Regions from separate parts of the Homo sapiens genome. Here regions 1 and 2 are each linked to region 3. The links are contacts of gene promoters, found by promoter capture Hi-C in human tissues and cell types (Jung and others, 2019). All regions are on one chromosome and are shown on one strand. The core of a region is centred on a gene start or on the middle of the fragment in contact, and the rest is flanking DNA. Distances in the headings are between cores, read along the strand shown.

Evidence for each region. The method cuts DNA at HindIII sites, captures the fragments that hold promoters and counts their contacts. A contact is called where the count stands out against the background at its distance.
Region 1: a fragment that was not itself captured here is called in contact with the fragment with the promoter of TMEM244 in region 3 in 2 of the 25 tissues and cell types used here (aorta and hippocampus).
Region 2: a contact is called between a fragment that was not itself captured here and the fragment with the promoter of TMEM244 in region 3, in 1 of the 25 tissues and cell types used here (H1 embryonic stem cells).

Annotation. Positions count from the first base shown.
Region 1 is chr6:129,580,585-129,583,411 of GRCh38, forward strand. The region is part of intron 13 of ARHGAP18 (Rho GTPase activating protein 18); the gene reads right to left. Among named protein-coding and RNA genes, the nearest start is that of ARHGAP18, 130 kb to the right of the region's middle. The HindIII fragment of the contact is 6,052 bases long and covers 1-2,827 here.
Region 2 is chr6:130,252,550-130,255,249 of GRCh38, forward strand. It overlaps a transcript of SAMD3 not described here. Among named protein-coding and RNA genes, the nearest start is that of SAMD3, 31 kb to the left of the region's middle. The HindIII fragment of the contact is 7,672 bases long and covers 1-2,700 here.
Region 3 is chr6:129,860,009-129,862,855 of GRCh38, forward strand. It overlaps TMEM244 (transmembrane protein 244), which reads right to left and starts at 1,307. Exons shown (of 5, transcript NM_001010876.2): 1 at 1,148-1,307. The coding sequence starts at 1,180. The region is part of intron 2 of LOC105377999 (a long non-coding RNA gene); the gene reads left to right. The HindIII fragment of the contact is 10,214 bases long and covers 1-2,847 here.

The DNA of each region.
Region 1 (2,827 bases), core at 104-2,603, 280 kb before region 3:
GAAGAATAAGACATGCTTCTGACTGGGTGTGAAGGCTCATGCCTGTAATCCCAGCACTTTGGGAGGCCAAAGCAGGTAGATCGCTTGAGCCCAGTCTGGGCAACATGGCAAAACCCCATTTCTACCCAAAATACAAAAAATTTAGCCGTGCATGGTGGTGAGTGTCTGTGATCCTAGCTACTCGGGAGGCTGAGGTGGGAGGACTGCTTGAGCCCAGGAGATGGATGTTGCAGTGAGCTGAGATTGTGCCACTGCACTCCAGCCTGGGTGACAGAATGAGATCCTGTCTCCAAAAAGAAAAAAAAAAGAATAAGCCATTCTCTTCTGTCAGTTGTGCAAATGAGGGCAGCACAGACCCTCAGAGTGGAAGCAAATTATGTCATTATCTTTCTGTAAAAGAATTACCTGAGAAACCTGCTAAAAATTCAGATGGAGAGCTCTAGAAACTCAGATTTAACTGGTCTAGGATAAAGCCCAAGAAACTGCTTTTCAAATGCTCTATAGTGGATTCTGAAGCATGGCAAGGTTAGTGGACCACTAAGATAAGGCCCTGAAGACACACTCTCTGGAACTGAGAAGAGAAAATCAGGTCTGACTTGTATTCAAGCCATTAGGAAGAGCATGGTACAGCAGCAGCGCTCCTCACCACCCATGGAATGGCTCATCTGGTTCTCCTCCTTTCTCTCCCTGCCCTGTGTCCCTGGCACACTGGACAGTCAGGGCTCTCTGGGCCCTCACGCTATGTTCCACCTGCTGCACTGCATCTGATCCACTTTGTTTCCAACTACAGTGTAGGTTTATCTTTTAAATTAAATAATTTAATCATTATTATTTTTGTTTTTAATCTAGTACATAACACAATCAACTACTATAGGTCTAAAGAGAGTCCCTATTTCTGTGAAAACCAAATTGAATGTTTCAGGAGACTTGATTTAAAGAAAAACATCTAGTTAGATATTGCTGTCAGACTGATTCTCAAGTACCTGTGTTCTACTTTAAAGAAACAGGAACTAGATTTCCTGGTATATTCAGATTTTTGCGTAATGCTAATCAACAAATTCATCGTTAAAGGCAACAATCCTTTACCAAAGAATGAATGAACGTGCGATTTATTATACATATATTGTATATCATTCATATGTCCATTGGCTTCAGTTGACGAGGTGGGGGAGAAAAAGAATGGAAGGATATAGAGTTTCTACCTGCCCCAGCACAGGTGGAATACAAATGGAAGAAGCACAGGAATGTGGTGGAAGAAATATATAAACATTTACTCAGAATTTCACTTACTATGCGGCCCAGACAGACAGTGCTATATGCTGCATGGTCATTTTCCTAGTTAATTACAATAATAGATGCTATTCTGGTCCATTCTTACAAATGAGGAACTTGATACTTAAAGAGATGATAAAAACTAACTGAAGGTGAAACAGAAATAGTTAGCTTTGAAATCCAGATTACATCCCCAAGCATAAGGAAAGGGGCTGAGGACTGGGGGCGGAAGTGAGGTAAATGGAGAAGTTTACCAGACTTCCATCTAGGTGGAGAAGGAATAGGAGGAAGAGCGGGATGAAGATACCCTGCTCTGGGGGTAGCAAATGCTTATTTAATACAAACACCACAAGCAGAAAATCCAAATTTGTCAGACGATAGTTGTCACAAGTTGGTGCTTTCTATAACAATATGACTATGATTGTTTTCATGCTATACCTTAAATATTAAAGTCACAGTTGAATGTGGGGTACAGCTTCATAGTCTCATATTATTAGCAAGTAGAGGAACAAAAGTACAGACTAAATTGAGCACTTGGGTCCTGAAAGTAAATGTAAATTAACTGTGTCTGGCTGGAAAGAGCTGCTTATATCTGAAGTCTGGCCAGGTCTTCAGGTACACGTTCTGGGAGAGAATGAGAGCATGGCTGGTGGGAAGAATGGCAAAAGTTAGTATCTACTAAGTCAAGGTAGGGAGCAGAGAGGATGTGGATTGACTTTGCAGAAACTGCAAGACACTATAGGGAGCAAAGACATCTGAGATCTTCCAAGTGCCCTCAGGACATAATCTCCAAAAACACATCTACTCTCAGTCTCTGCACTAGTGGTTCCCAGATCTATGATGCTCTGTAGATCCTCCAGCCAGTGTGGAGAATGGTTAAGGGACTACCTTTGGAGGGAAACCACAGATTTAGAATTCCAGCTCTACCACCTATGAAAAATGTGTGACCTTGTAAATCTCTGTTTTCTTATCAGTGAAGCAGACGTAATAATAGCACTTACTTCAGAGTGCTGTTCTGAGGGAAGTTTACACTGGCTTATTGAAGCCTAGATATTACCAATAAGCCTCTCTCTCATTTCATCACCATCTGTTAGCTGCACAGATTCATCCTTTCTCCCAATTTATAAACCCTATGGGAAGGTACTTTAAAATATATGTTTATACCTCCCCTTCCAATTATGGTACTAGAAGTATTTAACATGTTTCTGTTCTGTTTAAGGCCTTGTGCTTTAGCAGAAAGCTTGATTGAAGCCCCCAAATGTTAGAATGAGGAGATTAAATTCAATGAAAGACCAAGACAGAGTATTCGTAAACTGAGATGCCAATGCCCTGGATGTCCCTCTGTTTTTAAACATTTAGTTTATTTCAGTGACTGAAAATGAGGCTGGAGGAGGCATGAAAACATGACTTCAGCTAAAAGAAAGAATTCAAAGGGCAAAACCTGAAAATACAATATACTTGTTAGGATCTCTAAAATATAAGAAGACACTGCAAAGTGTTCTGGAAAGGGCATACTCTAATATAGTGAGAGGGATGCTAGCAGCTTTCAAATGAC
Region 2 (2,700 bases), core at 141-2,640, 390 kb after region 3:
CTCGTCTGATTTAAATTTCCGTAAAAACTTCAACTGACAAACTAAACCAGCTGCTGGTGTAAAGCTTTGTTACAACACTAGCTAAGAAAACACAAGTAGAAACTTGAAAGGGTTTCTGCCGCCTGAAGTGTCGTTTGTTTTTGGTTTCCTGGATTTGGGTTGGAATTCCTTTGTGGCAACCAAAACAGCTGTCCACTGGTAGGCTTAGCTTCAACTATTAATTCAGCTGTGGCACAGGAGCAAGCTTCAGAGATGCGCTCTGTGGAAGGGTTCTCTCGATCCCTGGAATTTTGGTGTTACATTCTCAGTCTATATTGGGTATCTGCTCTCCTGAAGAATCTTTGCTTTTTGGTAGGTTTTAAGACGATGACATTGGTAAAATTATTTTAGTCATAATTTCCATACTTACAGAAAACGCCATTCTTGATTAGCTGTTTACATTTCCAGTAATCAGACAGGTGAAGGCCATCTGGGTCAGGTTTTTTCCATGCCTCTGCAGGATTCTGTGTACATACTTTACACAACCTAGTGAAGTTCAGTTCATATTGTGCTGTATCCTTTCCTTAGCAATTGCGCAGGAGATGCAGTGTTATAAAACTTCACTACTTCCAGCACATCCTTTTCTGGGAACTCTTTATTAGTGACAAGTTTCCTGTGGTAGAAGTAATTTGAAATAAGACAAAAATAAGTGAGCTCTTTTTCTTATCCTTGTGTGAGTCCAGCTCTGGCTTCTCTCGGAGGCAGAAAGAATAGAGGAAAACTTCAAGTTCTTGTGAGTCTGGGTGCAGTCCTTGTTTAGTTGGAACCAGTGGGCTACAACCATCTTGAGCTACTACCTAAAATTCTTTTTCAATAGATGAGCTTACATTTATTGATATGATAATATCTTTAATTCTAGGTATTTACCTTGTGTGTTATTTTGAATATTTTAGGGCTTAAAAATCATTAACAATGTGATCCATTTTCTTGTCTTATTTGCAGAAGTCTTCTGACAGTTAAGAGAACTTGCATTTTTCTATAATTTTATAAATATAACTCAACAATGCTATATTTATAGAATATAAGATTTTAAATATGTGTTATATGTATAATTTTATATTCTCACCTTTTAAAGTAAATATCAATGCTTTCTATTTTAAGAAATAAATTAGTGTAATATTTCCTTCTATTTCTTCCTTGCCACCAAATTAAAATTATTATTTTTTTTTGGTGGAGGGGGGTATATCTTTGTACTAATAAATGTGCTTATACCTCTTTTATGTGATTTTTCATCATTAAATAATGTTATTTACCCCTTACCTCTCCTCCTGTTATTAGTGTATCTTCATTGTTAGGGTATATAACATTTAAATTCTCTCCTGTTACTGTATTGCTCATGTTTGTTTTGGTCTGAGGTCTGTAATTAGATACATTCAAAATGTCCCAGTAAGCATTTTGCTGTAGTTACCCATCTTTTTTTTTGAGACAAAGTCTCACTCCTGTCACCCAGGCTGGAGTGCAGGAGCAAGATCATGGCTCACTGCAGCCTTGACTTCCTGGGCTCACTTGATTTGCCTACCTCAGCTCCCAAGTATCTGGGACTACAAGTGTGTGCCACTACGCTCAGCTAACTTTTTGTATTTTTATTTATTTATTTATTTATTTTATTATTATTATTTTCTGAGACAGAGTTTTGCTCTTATTGCCCAGGCTGGAGTGCAGTGGCGTGATCTCAGCTCACTGCAAGCTCTGCCTCCCAGGTTCAAGGAATTCTCCTCCCTCAGCCTCCCGAGTAGCTGGGATTACAGGTGCCCTGCCACCACACCTGGCTAATCTTTTGTATGTTTGATAGAGACAGGCTTTGGCCATGTTGGGCAGGCCACTCTCGAACTCCCGACCTCAGGTTATCCACCCACCTCAGCCTCCTAAAGTGCTGGTATTACAGGCATGAGCCACCGAGTCCTGCCTTTTTGTATTTTTAGTAGAGATAAGGTTTTGCCATGTTGCCCAGGCTGGTCTCAAATTCCTAGGCTCAAGCAATCTGCCTGCCTTGGCCTCCCCAAGTGCTGGGATTACAGGTGTAAGCCAGTATTGAATACTGCTGTGAAGAGTTTGAAGCCAGCCTGATTTTTCCTCCTTATACATAACTGGATAGTTTTGCTTTGTTTCTCAGATGATTCTTCATTACTCTTTTCTTGTGATATCTTTGTCTGGCTTTGGAATCAAGGTAATAGTGGCCTCATAAAAGGAGTGTCAAAGTATTCCCTCCTCTTTGACTTTTTGGGAAATTTTTGAAGAATTGGTATTAGTTCTTCTTTAAATGTTTGGTAGAATTGGCTTTTAAATTTTCTGGAGGTGTACAGTTGTTTATTTTATATCTTTCTTCTTTTTTGATGTAAATAATCATTGCTTAAAACTTTCCTCTTCAAACTGTGTTTGTGGCATTTCATAAGTTTTGGTATGTTGTGTTTCCATGTTTGTCTCAAGATATTGTTTCAATTTCTCTTTTAATTTCTTCATTGACCTATTTGTTGTTCAGGAGAATGTTGTTTACTTTCCAAGTATTTGTAAACTTTCCACAATTCCTCTTGTTATTGACTTCTAGTTTCATACCATTGTGATCAGAAAATGGTACTTTATATGATTTCAGTTTTCTTAACTTTGGTAAGAGTTGTCTTGTGGTCTAAGATATGATCTATCGTGAAGAATGTTCTGTGTGTG
Region 3 (2,847 bases), core at 57-2,556:
CTAATGTTCTAAGGCTCTAATTCTACACTTGAAGCTCAGATGATTCTAAGATAGTGAGGAACTGCAGCAACTATCTGGATATTTTCTCTGCAATGCGTGTGTGTGTGTGTGTGTGTGTGTGTGTGTGTGTGTGTGTGTGTCTGTCTGTCTGGTCTGTGTAAGCCCCGACTAAATATAGAGCCCCCATTCTTTGTGTAAGCTACTTAAGAGAAAGGATTTTATCTTCTAATTTTTATCTCTTCAGCAGAAGTTATTATTGCTAGTTCAATCCCAAATCTATACATAAATTACGAAGTTTAATAACCCCTTAAAAATAAGCTTTTTAAAAATATTTTTCCTGAAATAATGTTTTACTGACCTTGAAAATTTTTCTTAGCTGTTGTCATGCTCAACATTTCTCACTGATGACATATGTGGTGATGATGGTAGTGTAAAGAAAAAGCTTGAGGAAATACACACGGTGCTGATATTTTACTAAAATGAATGTAGCACTCACTCATAATTGTAATTTAATTTTTAAGTAAAAATCTGATTTTCCACTATCATTCCCTTAAGTCTGGCTCATTATAGGCCTAAAGCCTGTATGAATTTACACAGCTGCTTTGAGGCTTTGCATATTTCCTTGTTTTCGATTGTTTGATTTTTTTTTAAAGGGGTATTTTTGCACTGAAGTAAAACACAACTATTAACACTAGCCTCGGGGGAAAAAGAAACTAACAAACCTACAGCTTGAAATGTTTCAACACTTTGCATTTAAAATTTTGCGCACCCTTTAGAAGTTACAAAAATAAAAGCCACTCCCTGCAAAAAAAAAAAAGAAAAAAAGATTGAGAACAAACTGTCATGATTTCAGAAAACGATAGCAGACGTGCAGGTGCTAATACCAGAGAGCTTACCTCCGAATAAAATGGTGCCTTCTAAACAGCGACTATTTACATGTTTTAGAATCCTTTCTTGGGCATGGGTGCCTTTATATTGCCCTATTACCACAAGATGCAAGCCGTGCAGCAGAATGTTTTCTGTATGGTACCCAGCCAAAAGTGAAACAAGTTGCCCACTGACAGAGAGGCCATTTATAGAACATATTCATTTACACCAGTGCTAGGCAGCAACTGAAAGGCAATGCAAAGAAGTAATTTCTCTTTACCTTGCTTGGAGCAACTCTGACCTGGAGAGCCATGTACACATCCTACGTCAAGGAGGTGATGAAAGCCCCACTCCTTATAGCGATGACATCTGGAAGAAGACACAATTGTCACCGTGAGCTTTTCAATTACTCCTGGAGACTAAGTGTGAGACGCAGTAGTGCAGGATGATTGGATTACGCAAAACGAGACAGATGCCATCTGTGAGCCACGCGTAAGCTGCTAAGTGCCAAAATGAACATCCTTATTAAACGATGGAGTTCTCATACCATTTGTAGTTTGGTCAGATTTGAAAGATGAGTTGATTGTTTTTAGATAGTGCGGCAAATAGGCAGGGACTTGGAATCCTCTCTGGCTGTATGAGTAATTACTGTCTCATACTTAAATTAGAAACATGGGTTTTCAGTTAGGTCTTGAGATTGTTTCCAAAGGATGCTGCTGCATTCATGTTGAAGCGTGGCCTGTCCTCTCTGTTTCACTCACAAGGGCCACAGAGTTCTGAGAAAGAAATCATCAGTTCCTTTCACATCATGGCAAAGAAATGTAAAACTTATGACTTTTTGTTAGGAAACAAAAGGGTTCCCATACTCTAAAATAATGGCCACAATATTGTGGGTAGAATGTTTTCAAGAACTGCCAGGAGGCAGTATTGGAGCTCTGTCTCTCTGCGTCCTGAGGCTCCAGAACCAATCCTTCATTTACAATTCATTCTCCCATCTTTTTACTGGCACCAACTCTATTATTATTTTTATTTTAATTTTTAATTGCTGTGATTACATAGTAATATAGTAATATACCCCATAGAGTTTATGGGGTACATGATATATTTTGATATAGGCATCTAATATGTAATGATCACATCAAGGTAAGTGGGATTTCCATCACCTCAAGCATTTATTCTTTGTGTTACAAGCAATCCAATTATACCCTTTTAGTTATTTTTAAATGTACAATTAAATTATTATTGACTATAGTCACTCTGTTGTGCTATCAAATACTAGATCTTATACATTCTCTCTCTTTTTTGTATGCATTAACCATCCCCACACTCCCCCTTTTCTCCCACTACCCTTCCCAGCTTCTGGTAACCATTCTTTTACTTTCCATCTCAATGAGTTCAATTGTTTCCATTTTTAGTTCCCACAAATAAGTAGGAACATATGAAGTTTGTCTTTCTGTGCCTGGTTTATTTCACTTAACATAAGGACCTCCAGTTCCATCCATATTGTTGCAAATGACAGGATTTCATTCTTTCCTTTGGCTGAATTCTATTCTGTACCTGTACCACATTTCTTTATCCACTTGTCTGTTGATGGACATTTAGGTTGTTTCTTAATCTTGGATATTGTGAAACATGCTGCAATATACATGGGCATGCAGATACCTCTCCGATAGACTGATTTCCATTCTTTGGGGTATATGCTCAGCAGTGGGATTGCTGGATCATATGGCAGTCCTATTTTTCTCTTTTGAGGAACCTCCAAACTGTTCTCCATAGTGGCTGTACTAATTTACATTCCCACCAGCAGTGTATGAGGGTGTCCTTTTCTTCACATCCTCACCAGCATTTGTTATTGCCTGTTTTGGGATAAAAGCCATTTTAACTGGGGTGAAGTCATATCTCTTTGTAGTTTTGATTTGCCTTTCTCTGATGATCGATGATGTTGAGCACTTCTCACATACCAGTTTGCCATTTGTATGT